Regions from separate parts of the Homo sapiens genome. Here region 2 is linked to region 1. Evidence: promoter capture Hi-C in 16 types of primary human blood cells and fetal thymus (Javierre and others, 2016). All regions are on one chromosome and are shown on one strand. The core of a region is centred on a gene start or on the middle of the fragment in contact, and the rest is flanking DNA. Distances in the headings are between cores, read along the strand shown. Region 1 holds the start of SCRN2 (secernin 2). Region 2 holds the start of TBX21 (T-box transcription factor 21).

Region 1 (3,789 bases), core at 1,290-3,789:
GTGTGTTTTCCTAAGACCTTATGCCAGCCCCACTCCTCCAGGTGCCTCTTTTGTCTTCCTGGTTCTAGGGGAGTTAGACCCCAGGAACTTGGTGAGTCCCCTCCTCCTTTACCCCCATCGCTGCCCCCAGGGACAGGAGGGCAGCTGTGCGGCCGGCTGGGCCTGTCTGGGCAGGGCTGGGGCCACCCCTCCTCCCCATGCAGCTCCTCCCGCTGACCTGCATTCTTAGCAGGGGCCTTTGGTGGGGCTCTGACACTTGCTTCCTTGCTGGAAATGCTGCCTGGCTGGCCTGCCCCCCATCCCCCCCACGACGGAACCCAAAGCCACCTCTGACCCCCCTCAGATGGGGTGCCTGGCAGGAGGATCATGGATGGCCCAGGAAAGGGTTAGGGAAATCAGAACATCTGGGCTGGCTCTCTGGGTTCCTCTCCTGGGAAGTGGAAGTAGAATCTACTCCTAACCTCTAGGGTGGGTGAATGAAATAAGAAATGAGAAAGTGACAGAGAAGAAGACAGCCTGGAAACTGCAACCTGGGGGTGCGCTGTGGCCTCTCTCTGCCTCTCCTCCTGCCTGTTTCCGCCCCACAGTGGGAAGCCGGGAAACTGCAGGAGATGAACCCGCCTTCCTGCAAGCTGCTTCAGGTGCCCAGATTTCTCAGCACGCAGCTTCGATGTTTGCTTCTGGAATGACATTAATTGGCAACCTCACAATCCCTCCCCGACACTGTATCAGAAACAGCCTTCACCTTCCCATTAATCCTAGCATGACTGACCGCCAGCACCCTAGCACAGTAGGCTTGAAAGAAGGCCAAACTCCACTAAAACACTGTTAGAATTGTTTTCTTTCTTTCTTTCTTTCTTTTTTTTTTTTTTGAGACGGAGTTTTGCTCTTGTTGCCCAGGCTGGAGTGCAATGGCGCGATCTCAGCTCACCGCAACCTCCGCCTCCCAGGTTCAATCGATTCTCCTGCCTCAGTCTTCCCAAGTAGCTGGGATTGCAGGCATGTGCCACCACGCCTGGCTAATTTTGTATTTTTAGTACAGATGGGGTTTCTCCACGTGAGCCAGGCTGGTCTTGAACTCCCAACCTCAGGGGATCCGCCCACCTCAGCCTCCCAAAGTGCTAGGATTACAGGCATGAGCCACCACACCCGGCCCACTGTTAGAATTGTTAAGCAAATACAGTAAAGTCAGAGGATACAAGGTCAATGTACAAAAGTCAATAGTGTTCCTATACACTAATAACAAACTATACAAAAAAGAAATCAAGAAAATAGTCCCATTTACAATAGCTACCAAAATAATAAAATATTTAGGAATAAATTTAACCAAAGAGGTGAAAGATCTGTACTCTGAAAATAAGATATTGATGAAAGAAACTGAAGAAGACACAAAGACATGGAAAGATATTTCATGCTCACGGATTGGAAGAATTACTATTGCTAAAATGTGCATACTACTCAAAGCCATCTATAGATTCAGTGCAACCCCTAGAAGCAGATAACCTGCAGCATCTCCCCTCTCTCCATTCTGGAGGGCTCCACAGAGCAAAAGGGTGTAAGATGCATTTGTCTTAATGATGGCTATGGAGAGATGGTTTGTAGAGAAAAATGAACTGAAAATCAAAACATTTGGGATCAGAGTGTACCTCCACATGACTGTGTGTCACCTTTGGCCAAGACTTCTTTGTGGTTTCAGTTTCACTACAGGTAAAGGCACCAAATCTTTGAACTAGAAAGTTCTAAATTTCCCTTTAAAGCGATCTTCCTATGGGTTTGAGCACTATCAGACAGATAGGTCCTCTGGGATCAGATGGGTTTTGTGCACACTTTCCCTTATTTATTTATTTTAAGAGACAGGGTCTTGCTCTGTCACCGCGGCTGGAGTACCGCGGTGTGATCTTGGCTCACTGCAGCCTCAATCTCTCTGGCTCAAGAGATCCTCCCACCTCAGCCTTCAGAGCAGCTGGGACTAGAGGCACGCACCACCACGCCCAGCTAATTTTAAAATATTTTCTGTAGAGGCGAGGTCTTGCTGTGTTACCCAGGCTGGTGTTGAACTCCTGGGTTCAAGTGATCCTCCCACCACCGCCTCCCAGAGTGCTGGGATTACAGGTGCGAGCCCCCCGCACCCAGCCTCCACCACTCTCGTATTCTGTATCTTATTCCCCTAGGCGCCTCCAGCCTGGGATTGCGCCTCTGGGATTCAAACCAGGACTCAAGTATCTGAGGTTCTTCCTTAATCTCCAGATGTCCCAGCAGTCCCCTTTCTCTGACAAAGTCTCCCTTTTCACGCGGGATCCTTTCCACCCCCAGCTCCAGCTCCCCGCAGTGACTCCGTGGGGTTAGCAGCCTTTGTCAGGCCTCAAATGGGCGCCTGGGTAGGACAGGGAGCCAGGTGGGACTCGCAAGGCCGCTCTGCTCCGGGAAGTGGTGCAGGCGCGCGCCCTGGTGGAAAACGGCGGAGCTGCAGGCTCCGTTCCGGCTCCGACCCCGAGGCCGAAGGCCTTCCAGGTCACCTGAGAGTCTCCGCCCAATGGGGCGGCCCTGGCCAGAAGCGGAGGAGGTGGCACCCGGGACCGAGCTGGGGTCTTGGAGGAAGAGAGGGTGAGGGGAATACAGTACTGGGGGTGAGAGAAGGGTTGGACAGAAGAGGGTCGGGTATCTGGGCATGCGCAGGGCCGCAGGACTCTTGGTGGGGTAGCGAGGGGGACGGTCCCACGACTGCTCCGAAGGGCCGGGACTCCCAGTGGGGGCGGGACCCCCGGAGTGCCCGCCTGCGGACTCCCAAGCCTGGAGCCTGGGGAGAGGGTGGGCACCTCCGTTCCCGCACACCCGTCCATGGTGTGTGCGCCGAGCGTCCAGGAGCCACGGCGGTGTCTTCCTTGCGCGTCTTTTACACGTGTGGGGGTAGGCTGCTCCTCGGGGCTGAGCCGTGGCCAGGGTTATGGAGAGGCCCGCCTCTCCCCAGATGGCGTCGTCGAGCCCTGACTCCCCATGTTCCTGCGACTGCTTTGTCTCCGTGCCCCCGGCCTCAGCCATCCCGGCTGTGATCTTTGCCAAGAACTCGGACCGACCCCGGGACGAGGTGCAGGAGGTGGTGTTTGTCCCCGCAGGCACTCACACTCCTGGGAGCCGGCTCCAGGTGGGTTAGACTTTATGGGGTGCTGGGAGGTGTGGCAGATCTCTGCATTCTTTTAAGACCTTCTTCCCTGCTCCCCACACCTGGGAGGCTGCCAGAAGTAGTGGAAGAGCATGAGCTTTAGGTCTACCAACCTGGACCTGAGCTCATTATGTAGCCTCAGTCTACCTCAGTTTCCTCTTCTGTAAAATGGGAATGAGACCTTCCTCAAAGGGATCTATAAGGTAATTGGCAGAGTGCCACACTCGAGGGGCCGCCCCTCTATGAGTGGACGCTTCCTTTCTCCTCCCTCACCTCCAGTGCACCTACATTGAAGTGGAACAGGTGTCGAAGACGCACGCTGTGATTCTGAGCCGTCCTTCTTGGCTATGGGGGGCTGAGATGGGCGCCAACGAGCATGGTGTCTGCATTGGCAACGAGGCTGTGTGGACGAAGGAGCCAGTTGGGGAGGGGGAAGCCCTGCTGGGCATGGACCTACTCAGGTGCAGACCCTGCCCTTCCTCATCTGCCTGACACACCAGAAATCTAGGGGCTGAGTTTTGACCTGGGCCCATCCATCCCTCCCCCAGCCTGGTTCACAGGGGCCTCCTCCTCTCTGCAGACTTTGCCCTTGTGCCTTCGTGAAGAAGGCTGCAGCAGCAGCCACCTTT
Region 2 (3,386 bases), core at 1-2,500, 110 kb after region 1:
AATCTCCCCCCGTACACACACACCACCACCACCGCTACCACCACCACTACCACCACTAAAGCTGACCTGAGCACACCAGCAGCAAAGGAGCCGGGGGAGGTGGGCGCAGGGGGCCCGGAGATAAGGGGCTCCCTTCCCCTCCAGTTTCCCACACAGGAGGCCCAGGCGTCCTGTCCGCCCAGAGCACAGGCTTTCACTGCCCGCTGCGACTCCTCTACAGTAGAGAGTGGGGCAGGGGCGCACACCAATTCTAGGTGAAGCCACAGTCACCCTTCCCCTAAATCAAGGTGACTTCTCACTGTCCCGCACTCACCCGTCTCCCTTGTGAGTCCTCTGGCTGTTGGTGCAACAGCCTGGGCACAGACGCCCCTCCGGAGCTTTCCCTGTCCTCCTAACAACCCCATTCCCCTGTCTCCCTACGCTGAAGCCAAAGCAGTGAGGGACACGGAGTCAGAAGCATTGTCGAGCCAGAAAAACAGACGAGACGTTCTTGTTCCGGCGCGGGCACAGAGGCCCCAAGGGCCGGCGCGCCGCACTCACCGTCCCTGCTTGGTGATGATCATCTCTGTCTGGTGCTGATTAAACTTGGACCACAACAGGTGGTTGTTGAGCGCGACCCTCAGTTTCCCCGACACCTCCAGTCCCGCGGGTAGCGCGTAGTCCTCACGCGGCCCCGGGTAGAGCCCGGCGCGCGGGTCCGGGGCGGCGTAGCCCTCGCCCGGCTGGTAGCCCTCGGCGTCCGCGGGCGGCGGGAAGGACTCGCCCGCGCCGGGGAAGCCGGCCGCCTGGGGTCGCGGCGGGTAGGCGTAGGCTCCAAGGAAGCGGCTCGGCGGGGCGGGCACCAAGGCGCCCCCCGGGTAGGGAGACCCCAGGCTGCCGCCCCCGCGACGCTCGTCCGCGTCCTGCGCGCCCGGCTCCGGGTAGAAGTAGCGGTGCTGCGGGTCGGCGCCAGGCGCCCGGCCCTCGTCGCTCCCCGGCATCGGCTCGGTGCCCGTCAGCATGTCTCCGCAACCCGGCTCCACGATGCCCATCCGGGGCGGGCTGGCACCTTCCCGTAGCCGTCGAGGACCCGCCCCTCCGCGCGCGAGAGGGTCGCGTGGGCTGGGATGGGCAGGGAGCAGGGGGCGGGGGACCCGAGGGCCGGGTGGGGGACCCCACCGGAGCCCGGGCTCTGACGCCTGGCTTCTACGCCCTCGTCCGGCAGGCGCGCGGCAGCTCTCGGGCTTCCTCTCCAGCGGGCCGCTGTCACTAGAGTCGCAGCGCTTTGCTGTGGCTTTATGAAGCTCTCCGGCTCCCCCCCACTCCGCCACCTCGGCCCTGCTCCGCCTCGCCCCACCCCGCCCTCTCGTGGCTAATACTAGGCAAATTCTACGCTCTTGGCGAGTACTGCAGGGCCCCCCATGGTGGAGAGAAGCGAGAGCCTGCGCGCACCCTGTAGTTCGAAGATCTTGCTTTCTGGGAGTGTCAGCTCCGCTGCCTGACACACCAGCCCGTGGCTCTCTTCTGGACCCTCGGGGAAATTCAGCCCAGCTTTGAAGTCTCAGCTCAAAGGCCCTCTCCTACAGGAAGCCTTCCGAGATGGCCCAAGTGGGACTCGCTGGGCATTCTCCTGGCACTCAGAGGCTCGGAGCACGGGCACACTAGAAGCAACTTTGACCATGAACATTCAATCGATCTTTATTGATACCTACTGTGTGCCCAGACTCTGTGCTAAGTGACCTTTCGGGTTGCCCTCTTTCTCCCCACCAGAGGTCCACATGTGCTGAGTTGGCTGCATCTTGTAGCTCTAGCCCTGGGGGCAGACCTGGAACCTGATGGACAACAGGAAATGTTCCTTAAAGCGCACTGCATCAGCAGCAGCCAGGGGTTTGCAGGGCCCTGAGCTGGGCCTGGCAGGGCCCACAAAAGCTCCCCTACCCTGCATGGCAGTCATGGGCACTGGAAGTAGCATTGGGCTGCCAGTGCTGAGAGTCCCAGGTCTGGCTCTGCCTGCCAGGTATATGTGACCCAGGCAAGTCATTTTCCTTGCCTGAAAGTCAACCTCACGTGCCTCATCCATAGACTGGGGGAAATAAACAGATCTACTTTTCAGGGGGGCTGCAAGCCTTACATGAGAGGGTGTACGTGTGCAGCACTTTCCAATCTATTATTATACCTGGATGGAAAAGCTGCTTTGAACAGATTCAGAGCCGGCTGACAGGAAGGAAACCCACCACATGCTCTGAAGGGCTGCCTCGGAGATAGGACGATGGAGGCTTTTCTTTCTCCATTTTCCTTTTATGTTAACTAATGTATTAGACTCCTTTTATGATGAAAACTATCCGTTTCCCCCCCCCCAATTGAAAATAGCATCATTGGGAGTTTTCCTGTGTATAAAGATGAAACATACTTATATAGGAAATTTAAGCAGCACAGAAAAGTAAAAACAAGACTGTATAAATCACCCCAAATTCCACCCCCTAAAGCCAAACAGGATTAACATTTCAGTGAACACCCTCTGAGACCTCACTCCTTATATACTCTCTGTCTCTGTCTTTTGCACACATGCACAAATATATAATTTATATAAACACTACACATGCTGCTTTATAATGTGTACTTTTTTTTCACTCCACAAGGTGTCATGGAATATTTTGCATATCAGTATATAGATAAAGATTTACATTTTTAAGAGTACTTTGAAAAATACTTTAATATTTTTGTCATGTTAAAGTTTAACTTCTCCTCTCTCTACCTTCACCCCAGTCCTCCCCAGTTCTCCCCTGGGAACTGGCCCCAGCTCTACATTTCTGTCCCAGCCTGACAGGGCTTCACCCTTAGGGGCCTATGGGGACTCTCTGCTCCCAAATAGAGCTGAACCAAGAGGCAAGTTGGCAGGCAAAGGCAAAGCTGGGGACTCCAGGAGGTGGGCATGACCCAGGGAGGCTTGGGGGAGAGAGAATCAGCACATCTTTTGAGGTTGGAGACCGGATACATGACAGTACCAGAAACACAGGACTGGCCTCCTCCCCAACACCTTACCCACCATTTCTCCGTACCTTAAGGAACAGGGAAGTTTCTGCCTGATGTTCAAAGTGGGGCAGCATTGCTTGGAAGAGAGGGTGACCTTGGGATCCTTCACTACTTTTGGGGAAACATGAGAGCTTTCAGTAAGACCCTCCTGAATGACTGATTCCCTAGGAGATGTGAGACTGTTGAATGCTGACACCCCTTTGGGGGACATTTTTGCTCAGTGCTTGGCTGTTGAAGATCAAATGGAGTCTTGCTCCTCCCTCTCTCTCCCCCTCCTCTTTTCCACATTAATCCTCAGGTCAAGTGATTCATCCCCTTGCCTCTGAACAGGATGACATGAGCTCCCACCCAGCTTTCTGGGGCAGGTGGAATTA

Evidence for each region. Contacts are between HindIII fragments. The CHiCAGO score rates a contact against its expected background, and 5 or more counts as called.
Region 2: the fragment with the promoter of TBX21 here is called in contact with the fragment with the promoter of SCRN2 in region 1 in 1 of 17 cell types (M1 macrophages); the score reaches 5.2 in M1 macrophages.

Annotation. Positions count from the first base shown.
Region 1 is chr17:47,840,023-47,843,811 of GRCh38, reverse strand. SCRN2 (secernin 2) reads left to right here and starts at 2,539. Exons shown (of 8, transcript NM_138355.4): 1 at 2,539-2,604; 2 at 2,969-3,142; 3 at 3,440-3,621. The coding sequence starts at 2,969. RefSeq lists enhancers at 640-689, 2,512-3,067, 2,971-3,070. The HindIII fragment of the contact is 11,110 bases long and covers 1-3,789 here.
Region 2 is chr17:47,731,100-47,734,485 of GRCh38, reverse strand. TBX21 (T-box transcription factor 21) reads right to left here and starts at 1,250. Exons shown (of 6, transcript NM_013351.2): 1 at 541-1,250. The coding sequence starts at 1,031. RefSeq lists an enhancer at 462-511, silencers at 692-861, 892-1,431 and a promoter at 1,243-3,242. The HindIII fragment of the contact is 7,327 bases long and covers 1-3,386 here.